Regions from separate parts of the Homo sapiens genome. Here all the other regions are linked to region 1. Evidence: promoter capture Hi-C in 16 types of primary human blood cells and fetal thymus (Javierre and others, 2016). All regions are on one chromosome and are shown on one strand. The core of a region is centred on a gene start or on the middle of the fragment in contact, and the rest is flanking DNA. Distances in the headings are between cores, read along the strand shown. Region 1 holds the start of MGST3 (microsomal glutathione S-transferase 3). Region 2 holds the start of TADA1 (transcriptional adaptor 1). Region 3 overlaps POGK (pogo transposable element derived with KRAB domain).

Evidence for each region. The method cuts DNA at HindIII sites, captures the fragments that hold promoters and counts their contacts. A CHiCAGO score of 5 or more calls a contact.
Region 2: a contact is called between the fragment with the promoter of TADA1 here and the fragment with the promoter of MGST3 in region 1, in 1 of 17 cell types (M0 macrophages). The highest score is 7.2, in M0 macrophages.
Region 3: a fragment that was not itself captured here is called in contact with the fragment with the promoter of MGST3 in region 1 in 1 of 17 cell types (M2 macrophages); the score reaches 5.1 in M2 macrophages.

The regions. Positions count from the first base shown.
Region 1 is chr1:165,629,930-165,632,551 of GRCh38, forward strand. MGST3 (microsomal glutathione S-transferase 3) reads left to right here and starts at 1,305. Exons shown (of 6, transcript NM_004528.4): 1 at 1,305-1,364. RefSeq lists enhancers at 226-756, 1,810-1,979 and a silencer at 1,140-1,379. The HindIII fragment of the contact is 6,286 bases long and covers 1-2,622 here.
Region 2 is chr1:166,874,966-166,877,587 of GRCh38, forward strand. It overlaps TADA1 (transcriptional adaptor 1), which reads right to left and starts at 1,299. Exons shown (of 8, transcript NM_053053.4): 1 at 1,195-1,299. The coding sequence starts at 1,268. RefSeq lists silencers at 756-1,155, 1,186-1,235 and an enhancer at 1,636-1,685. The HindIII fragment of the contact is 11,749 bases long and covers 1-2,622 here.
Region 3 is chr1:166,841,900-166,844,521 of GRCh38, forward strand. All of the region lies in intron 2 of POGK (pogo transposable element derived with KRAB domain), which reads left to right. Among named protein-coding and RNA genes, the nearest start is that of POGK, 3.7 kb to the left of the region's middle. The HindIII fragment of the contact is 449 bases long and covers 1,105-1,553 here.

The DNA of each region.
Region 1 (2,622 bases), core at 55-2,554:
AACTGTCTCCCTAACTTACTTCCTTTCAATGTTCAAGCAAAACAAAGCCCTCTCTACATCCAACATGACAGAAACCCAACATGACAGAAAGTATGAGAATGGTTGGAAATTGCTGAAACAGCAACAGTAAAGATTTAATGAGCTCTCAAAGTACCTCTAGATGTGCAAATATGACAACCCAATAAAAAGAAACACACACATAACCTAGAGCCTTCAAAAATCTAGATTTCTGCCTTTCCACACCTTAACTTGGAATCATTCAGGTGGGTTCCTAAGCATTCTCTCGGAGGTGAGGAATCCTCCAAAGAGGAGACTCTAGGAGGGGCCCAGGTGTGGCAATCTTCAAAAGGATGAGGGATGTCCAGAGGAGAGGTGGCGGGAGGGTGCACTTAAAACACGCGAAAATTGGAAACGTGCCTTCTGCAGTCAGTTCCTTCGGATTTTCCGGCATTTAGAAGCCAGTTCTACTCCTTCAGCCCGACCGTATCTGCAGGTCTCACCCAAGACCAAGACCCCCGCCCCCACCCCTCCTCCACCCGGCCTCGAGCCCCGCCCCGGACGCTGGACCCGAGCGTAACGGGAGCAGGTGTTCACATCAAAGGTCTGGGTCGCGAAGGCAGAGACTCCATGTGCCGCAAAAAAAACTCCACGGACAATTGGGAGACTCCTTTCAAAAAAACAAAACTCCGGAGCCACGCGACTCCGCGCTCAGGGGGCGTGGGTACGGCCCACCACGAGGGCAGGGCTCGGCGCCAGCTCTCGGCAAAACTAACAATATTTGTTAGGCCCTAAACAAAAAGGCCCTAACAGCGATAAATCCATTCACTTCGGGAGTGTAGCAACCTGGGACACCAAGCGCCGCCCACGCCCCAGCTACGCGCCTCAGGGACACATCGATTGAGGCGCGGCTACTTTCGCGCACGCGCCTTGCATGCCCGTGCTTCGCCCTTACAGCAGAGCGCCTAAAACCGCTACGGTGGCTCTGCTGGGGACAAATTATTCACGTCCCACTGTTCTGCAAACCCAATCCGGGAGGTATGACCTGGCTGGGACAGTTTAGGAAGATGGCCACGAAGGCACCTGGGGGAGTAGATATATGTTTTTGAGAATGAGAGGAGTAAATCGCTGGACGACCATGAGCAGGAAGAAAATTAGGCCTCCACCTCCCAACCAGTGGCCCTGAGTTGGCAACTTAGACAGCGCGCGCCAGCGCCAGGAGCCCCGCCTTGGGGGCGTGGCCGCGCGCTGGTCGGCTGGGGCGGGGCCTGCTTCTGGCCTCATCTAGCCCCGCCCCAGGCGAGGGCGCCGCACCCACACCGCGCTGCGCAGTTTTGTTCTGCTCCAGCTGTTCGAAGGTGATCCAGGTGAGTGCTAGCACCTGCGGGCAGCCACGAGCACCGGGCCGCCGGGGGCACTTCAGCCTTTGCGCAGGGCACTCCCATATTTCAGCCTATGCGAGCTGAATAGAGACCCGCTGTCTCTAACCTCCCCCCACCCTTATCAGTAAATTAGCGATCTGAATTTCCACCCTCTCTGCTCTCCCCTTGCCTTGCATCTTTTCCCTGGTGGAGTGGGTTGGGAGCGTCTAAGCGAGGCCCGACCTATTTATGTGTAACTCAGGAAAATTCTCAAGGTCAACCCTTCCTCCATTCCTTCCTTTCCTCTCCTGCTGTCCCCGGGCTCTGCAGTCTGGGGGCACCTTTCTGCCTTCCGGAGACCACCCGACCTTGCCCTCTGCTGTTCCGGCGCAGAGGATGGCGAGCCGGACACTGCCGGGGGAGTGGTTGTGCAGGCCTGATCAGTAACACTGGTTTCAGAAGTGGCCTGTGAGCAATGCACCCGCTGCGGTGGGGATGTGTTGCTAGGGACGGTCGGGAGAGCCTCTGAAGGAATTGTGTTTGTTTTCCTCCTGCCTCTTAGAATCGTTTGTCCATTTGTACTGGGAAGGTGGTCATTTCCTACCGCTGACTTAGAGCAAGAGACGCCTCTAGGCGGGTGGGGGACTCTTCAGGTTCTTCCTTGGATTTCAGAAAATGCCCCTTCTTTATGTGGGGTGGCAGCACGGAGCCGTAGGGCTACAGTAGTGGGGCAGTTGCAGGGCGGTGGAAGGCGCTGGAGACTCCTTAGTGAGTCATTCCCCGAAGTTGTGGCTTCTGCTGATACTTTCCTTGAGAGTCACGAGTTTACAAGCTACATAATAGCGTCGGGGGCAAGTAAGTGTGGAAGACGAGGTAAAGGAAAAGCAGATACTAGGATGGGTAGAAGGAGAGGCAGGGGTTAGAACTTTAATTCCTTCCCTGGGGACAGGAGATGCCCTGGAGGGGAAGGCGCTTCCGGCTCTGCAGGTATGTGCTGTTGGGCCTAGGTGTGGTCCTGCGGAATTGCTGCAGATTTTAGATTGCTGGTGGGTAGGAGCTGCAGCGCTTCTCTTGGGAAATCTGTAGATCACCTGGAGCCAGCAGTTCTGGGAGGCACCCCAGGTTATTGGTCAGAGTTACAGGCTATATTTTATTTCAGTGAATTCAGAGAGCACATTGAGTCAGATCAAGAATGTTTATTCTCATAGGAGATGAATTTAAGGAGTTAAAACTAACATATAAAATAGAAACAAATACTTTCATC
Region 2 (2,622 bases), core at 49-2,548, 1.2 Mb after region 1:
CAAAATTCATGTATGACATCCAACCTAAGTAATTTCAATCCAGTAATAATAAAGAACAGAGAAGGATGAAAAGAAAGTATTGGAGAAAAATTAAGTATTCCCAAATTGCTCCTCCACCAACATCATTTAAAAGTATGCATCCACTGAGTAATGCAAATGTGTAGAATACCAGAGAAGCCATCTAGCAGCAACAACACAGGCACTGTAATTTTAAACGTTTATATTTGCTTCCTATATTTTTGAAAAATAAAGTTGTAATAACAACGTTTTGAAAATTTCCAAACTCTTCCTTGTATCCCAGAGGTTCCTTTTTTGCTCTTTGGCTTTGGCTTTGACTGGATACTGATTTTACCCTTGGCCATTCTGCACCTAACCTGACTGTGCACTAGGTCCCCTGCCATAACCTGGATGAAGGTCTGGCTGAGCGTCTCTGGGATCCTTTACAGCCCCTCTAATGCATCAGTCGGGAATCAAAAGCGTGGGTCCCAACTCTGACAGTGACTTTTGAAGAGTTACTTGTCCGCACTAGGTCTCAGTCTTCTCATCTGTCAAATGGGAATAACAACTGTACCTATCTCACATCTGTTGTAAGGATTAGATAATATATTTAGAGAGCTTAAAATGTTTAAAATGTCCGCTACTGCTATCATCACTATAATTGTAGTGTTCAATGACTGTGATTTCACCAGAGGGTCCGTCTGCCTTACGAAATTGCTGTCAAAAGAGCTTACCAATAATCCGTAGCAGATCACACCAGCTCAACAGGCCTCCACCTCCAGGAAGCCCTCCAGGGGCGGGCCGCCCTGCGCTATGCCCTCTGGCTGGACGCGTAGGGCTCCGGCTCACTCCGCCCAAGTCAGCCTCCCGCATCCCGCACGCCCGCGCTGGGGCCCGCACCTGCTCAGCAGGCCCTTGGGTGCGAAGTGCGCTTCTCCCGCCCCACCCAGGGCAGACAGTCCCGAGCAACGGCGCCCGCCGATGTCTCCCGGGCGCCCAGGAGGCCCGGTCTCTCCAGGGCGGTGAGTTCAGGTGGCCCGCCCCGCCCCGGCCGGAGAAACCCCGAAGCCCCGCCGCCGCGGACTCCAGGCTGCACAGGCCCCCGGGCGACGCGGGCGTCTCCGGGGCGGGCTGGCAGCCCGAGGCCAGGAGAGCACCCGCGTGTTGGCCTGGACGCTGTGCTAGGGCAGCTCTTACTGTTTCACGTTGTCCCCCAGGGCCTCGCTTAAGTTCTTCTTGGCCGCCTCCAGCTCGCTCACAAAGGTCGCCATTGCTCCGCGTGTCTCAGCCCGACCGCAGACCGCCCGGCCACCGCGATCAACAACCCAAAAACCAACTCGGCGGAAGGCCTTGGCTCTGGAAGCTAAGCCGGCCGCCGTCAGTCCCGCCCCCAATCTCTCAGAAGTCGTTTGTTTGGTTTTCGGCTCCGCCCGCCTTTTCGCAGGGAAGGTGCCCGGCCAAACTCTGCTCTCTTCCTCCCGCCCCTCGAGTCACGTGATCCGCTTCACCTTGTCGCGCGCCCATCCTAAACCCGCGCGCCCCGCCTCGGCTGCAACGTTGCTGACAGGCTGGCGTGTCCCAAGCTCTTTCATTCTGTTACCGCTGGGGCAATTCCGAATTCAGCCTGCTGTTCTTCTGCCTGGAGGAGTACCTTACCCCTCCATTTAAAAAAGTAAATGCAGTATCAGTTTTACTCTTTCCTTGCCTTATTTTTCCCCGAGCACTAACCGTCTCATATGACATTTAGTTGATTTATCTTGTAAATGTTATGGCTCGAGGACAGGAGTTGTGTTTTATTCACTGTTACCCGCAATTCTCTAGAGCAGCGCCTGGCACATAGTGGATGCTTAATAAGTATTTGAGTAAATGAGGTAACTATGTAAAATTTGGAAAATACACAGAAAGATAAAGATAAAAAGAAGGAAAAAGTGTTTTACCACTCCCGGACAAACACTTAACTGAGAGAGATTTCTCCTTCACTTCGCACACTCCCATGACTTAAAATATTCTATGTTCAATTTTGCACGTTTTTAAACTTAAGGATTTATCTGTAGTATTACATTGTCTTTAGAATAATTTTAATGACAACATATTAAATACCCCCACAGATAGAAGGTACACAACTTGTTTCCCAATTGTTAGACTGTGTCCATTTCTTCTCTATTAAAAAGCAATACTGTAATATTGCTTTTGAAGCATATAGCATAATGAAGCAAAACTTCTTTATGCATAAAACTTTTCCTCCTTTAGGATTATTACTTTAGCATAGAGTCCCACACATAGAATTACTGGATCAAATGATGGGAATATTTATAAATGCCTTGGTGTATATTGTCAAATTGCCTCCCAAAGTTTTTTAAATAATCCTAGATAGCTTTTAGATCTTGTGTAATTTCTCCAAAGATGTCCCCTTAAGTTCATTCATTCAACTTCCTCACTGCCCAACCTAAACCCACAAGCCCTGTCCTGGCTGCAATGCCAGCCGGGCACCTTCTCTTCACTTGAATTCATACAGTGAGCTCCTATTATGTGTCTGGAACTCTTTGAGTACTGGAGATACACAGGTGAAAGGAGATACAAAGGTCAGGCAAAGTCTTCCTCTCTGTGTCAAAACTCTGGGTAAGT
Region 3 (2,622 bases), core at 79-2,578, 1.2 Mb after region 1:
CTAAGGTTACACATGAACACTGACATTTGTTCTTCAAAACAGGTCTCCTGAGCTGCACCCTTAAAAGTAATGCATTTTACCATATGTATGCTATACCTTAATTTAAAAAAAAAAAAAACAGTGCAACCACAGGCTCTCAGTTTGCCAGTCTAGCTGTGGACACCGCGCTGCCTTTGTCTCATCAGTGTTCTTTGCCCACCACATCCTTCTTCCCAATTCTGATCCAAGCAGGCGTCAGGTCTATTTAGCCTGGAACAAGAACTCAAGGCAGTCAAAACTCAGGGCTTTGAGGCTAGATTGGTCAACCCAGAACATCTAAATGGAGAGCCTTGGAGAACAGGTGCAATGAAAGTGAATGTTGGGACAGTGAGGAAGGAGCAAGATGAAGACCAACCATGCTTAGGTGGGAAAAGAAGGAAGTAACCAGAAGGGCTGGAGGAGGGAGTCCAGCAGCTGGTGGTGCTGGGGATTGGGCATTTGTGGCCTCCAGGCAATCAGCCATCCATCCACAGTTACCAAGCACAGTGCTGGGCGTAAAGAGAGACTCTTTTCCTGATGGAATTTCCAGTCTTGTGAGCAAGGCAGGAAAGTAAACATAAGTAATAGTAAGCACAGTGTGCAGAGTGCAGTGGTGGAAGTCTGCAAGGATGCACCAGGAGCCAAGATGAGGGGATGCCTCATTCAGGCTGAGAACTCCGGGGCTTCCTGGACAAGGCCTAATCTTGAGCAGTGAGCAATTTTGCCCCCACCCCTGGACATTTGGCAACATCTAGAAACACTACCCCCTTTCCCCACCCCTGGATATTTGGCAATATCTGGAAACACTTTTGTTGGTCTGACTTGGTGGGGGTGCGTTGGGGACTGGGAGATCCTCCTGGCATCTAGTGGATAGAAGCCAGGGGAGCTGCTAGATATCTACAGTGCACAGGATGCCCCCCCACCACCACACACACACACACATACACACACAACAAAGAGGTAACTGGCCCAAAATGTCAGTTGTGCTGAGGTTGAGAAACCCTGCTCTAGAGCATTAGAAGAAAAGAATCTGTTTTTAAAATATGTATTTTGGTTATAGAGAATTATGTTAGGGTGATCAGTGAAAGCTTTTCAAGCATAAGAACTATGATAATATATTAGGATAAAATTCCATAGAATTGAAATAGAAATACAATTTTAAGTAGAAAAAATAAAAAATGTGCTTTGAACTGAGTCTTAGTCATTATGGAATCAGCCAAGGGAAGGGAAGGGGGTTGCATTCCAGGCAAGAGGACAGCACAGGCAAAAGCACTGAGGAGAGGAGCTTGGGTGCAGAGTTAGGAGCAGCTCCTGCAGCTGGAACCTGAAACTCATGGCAGGGAGTGGAAGGGGATCAGGTATAGGAGGCCAGGCCAGGGGCCAGAGCCAGCCAGGAGGACATGCAGTGCTACGCCAGCGAGTTTGAGCTTTCTCCTTAGCTCTGTGGAATGAGGCCTTAGCCCATCTTTCTAAGGGAGGCCTCAGGCTCTCTACAGCCACCATGCTAAGGCCTGAGTGGCCTGCTAAGAAAGCAAAGCTTTGGCATCAGACTTTCTAGCTCTGTGACCTTGGACAAGTTACTTAACCACTCTGTTTCCTTACCCATAAAAGTGAGGTAGTGATCCCCATGTCCCTAGTTTAGCGGATTCAGTGAGAGAATATATTTATATGATTGAGTGTCCTATACAGTGCTTGGCCCATAGCAGGCACTCCATCAGTGGATCAGTACAAACTACCCCAACCCCTTCCCCCGAGATCCCTGCGTCTTTGCTGGGTGGCTGCAAGGCTTTAGCGAGGCTGTGCAAGGTGTAAGCACTTTACAACATTTACCCTTTGAGATAGCATTGGAATGCCAACTTCCTGAGCAGAGCAAGGCAGTGCACACAAGCTAGAGGAAGAACACTTATCCAGTGAGCCCTTGATCTTCTGAGGAAAGGGAGGAGGGCAGGGACTGAAGGTCCCTACCTGCAAGGCCAAGGAGGGGTGTCTGGAGGTGGTACACAGACTGCCTGACTTCTCAGTTTTGCCCGGGGCCGGCCCTGTTTACCTTCTGCTATGTTGAGCCAGATAAAAGGCCTCTGTGGAGCGAGGGGAGGCCTGCGCAGCAGGGCCTGGCTGAAGGATCGCTCCATTCTCACAGAGGCTTGCTGTGAGGAGAATGTCTAAGCCACTACACTGTGCCTCTGGAGCATAATGTGGGCTTGTTTGAAGATCCTCCGTGGCTCAGTCATTAATAGGAAGAGATGAATCCTGCACCAGCCCCCAGCTTTCTTCCTGCAGCTTCAGGGCTCCTGGTACCTGATGTTTTTACCAGGCCTAGAATATGTTACCCCCCCTAAGAGTATTGATGGCCCCTCTGAAATGACAGGCATAGACAGTCCTGTTCCCATTTTATCAGCAAAGGGAAAGGGACTATAAATAGGTATGACCTAGATCTGGAACTTCCCAGGGAGAAAAAAAGGCCAAAGAGACAGTTCTTTAAAAGCCTGGGAATTGGGAAAGGAGTAGGGTGGAAAATTCCTGGGCTGACTGGCTTTCCAGGGTGAGGAAGTCTGAGGAAAGCCTGAAGACGAATCCATTTTACCTCCTCATATTTCACACTTA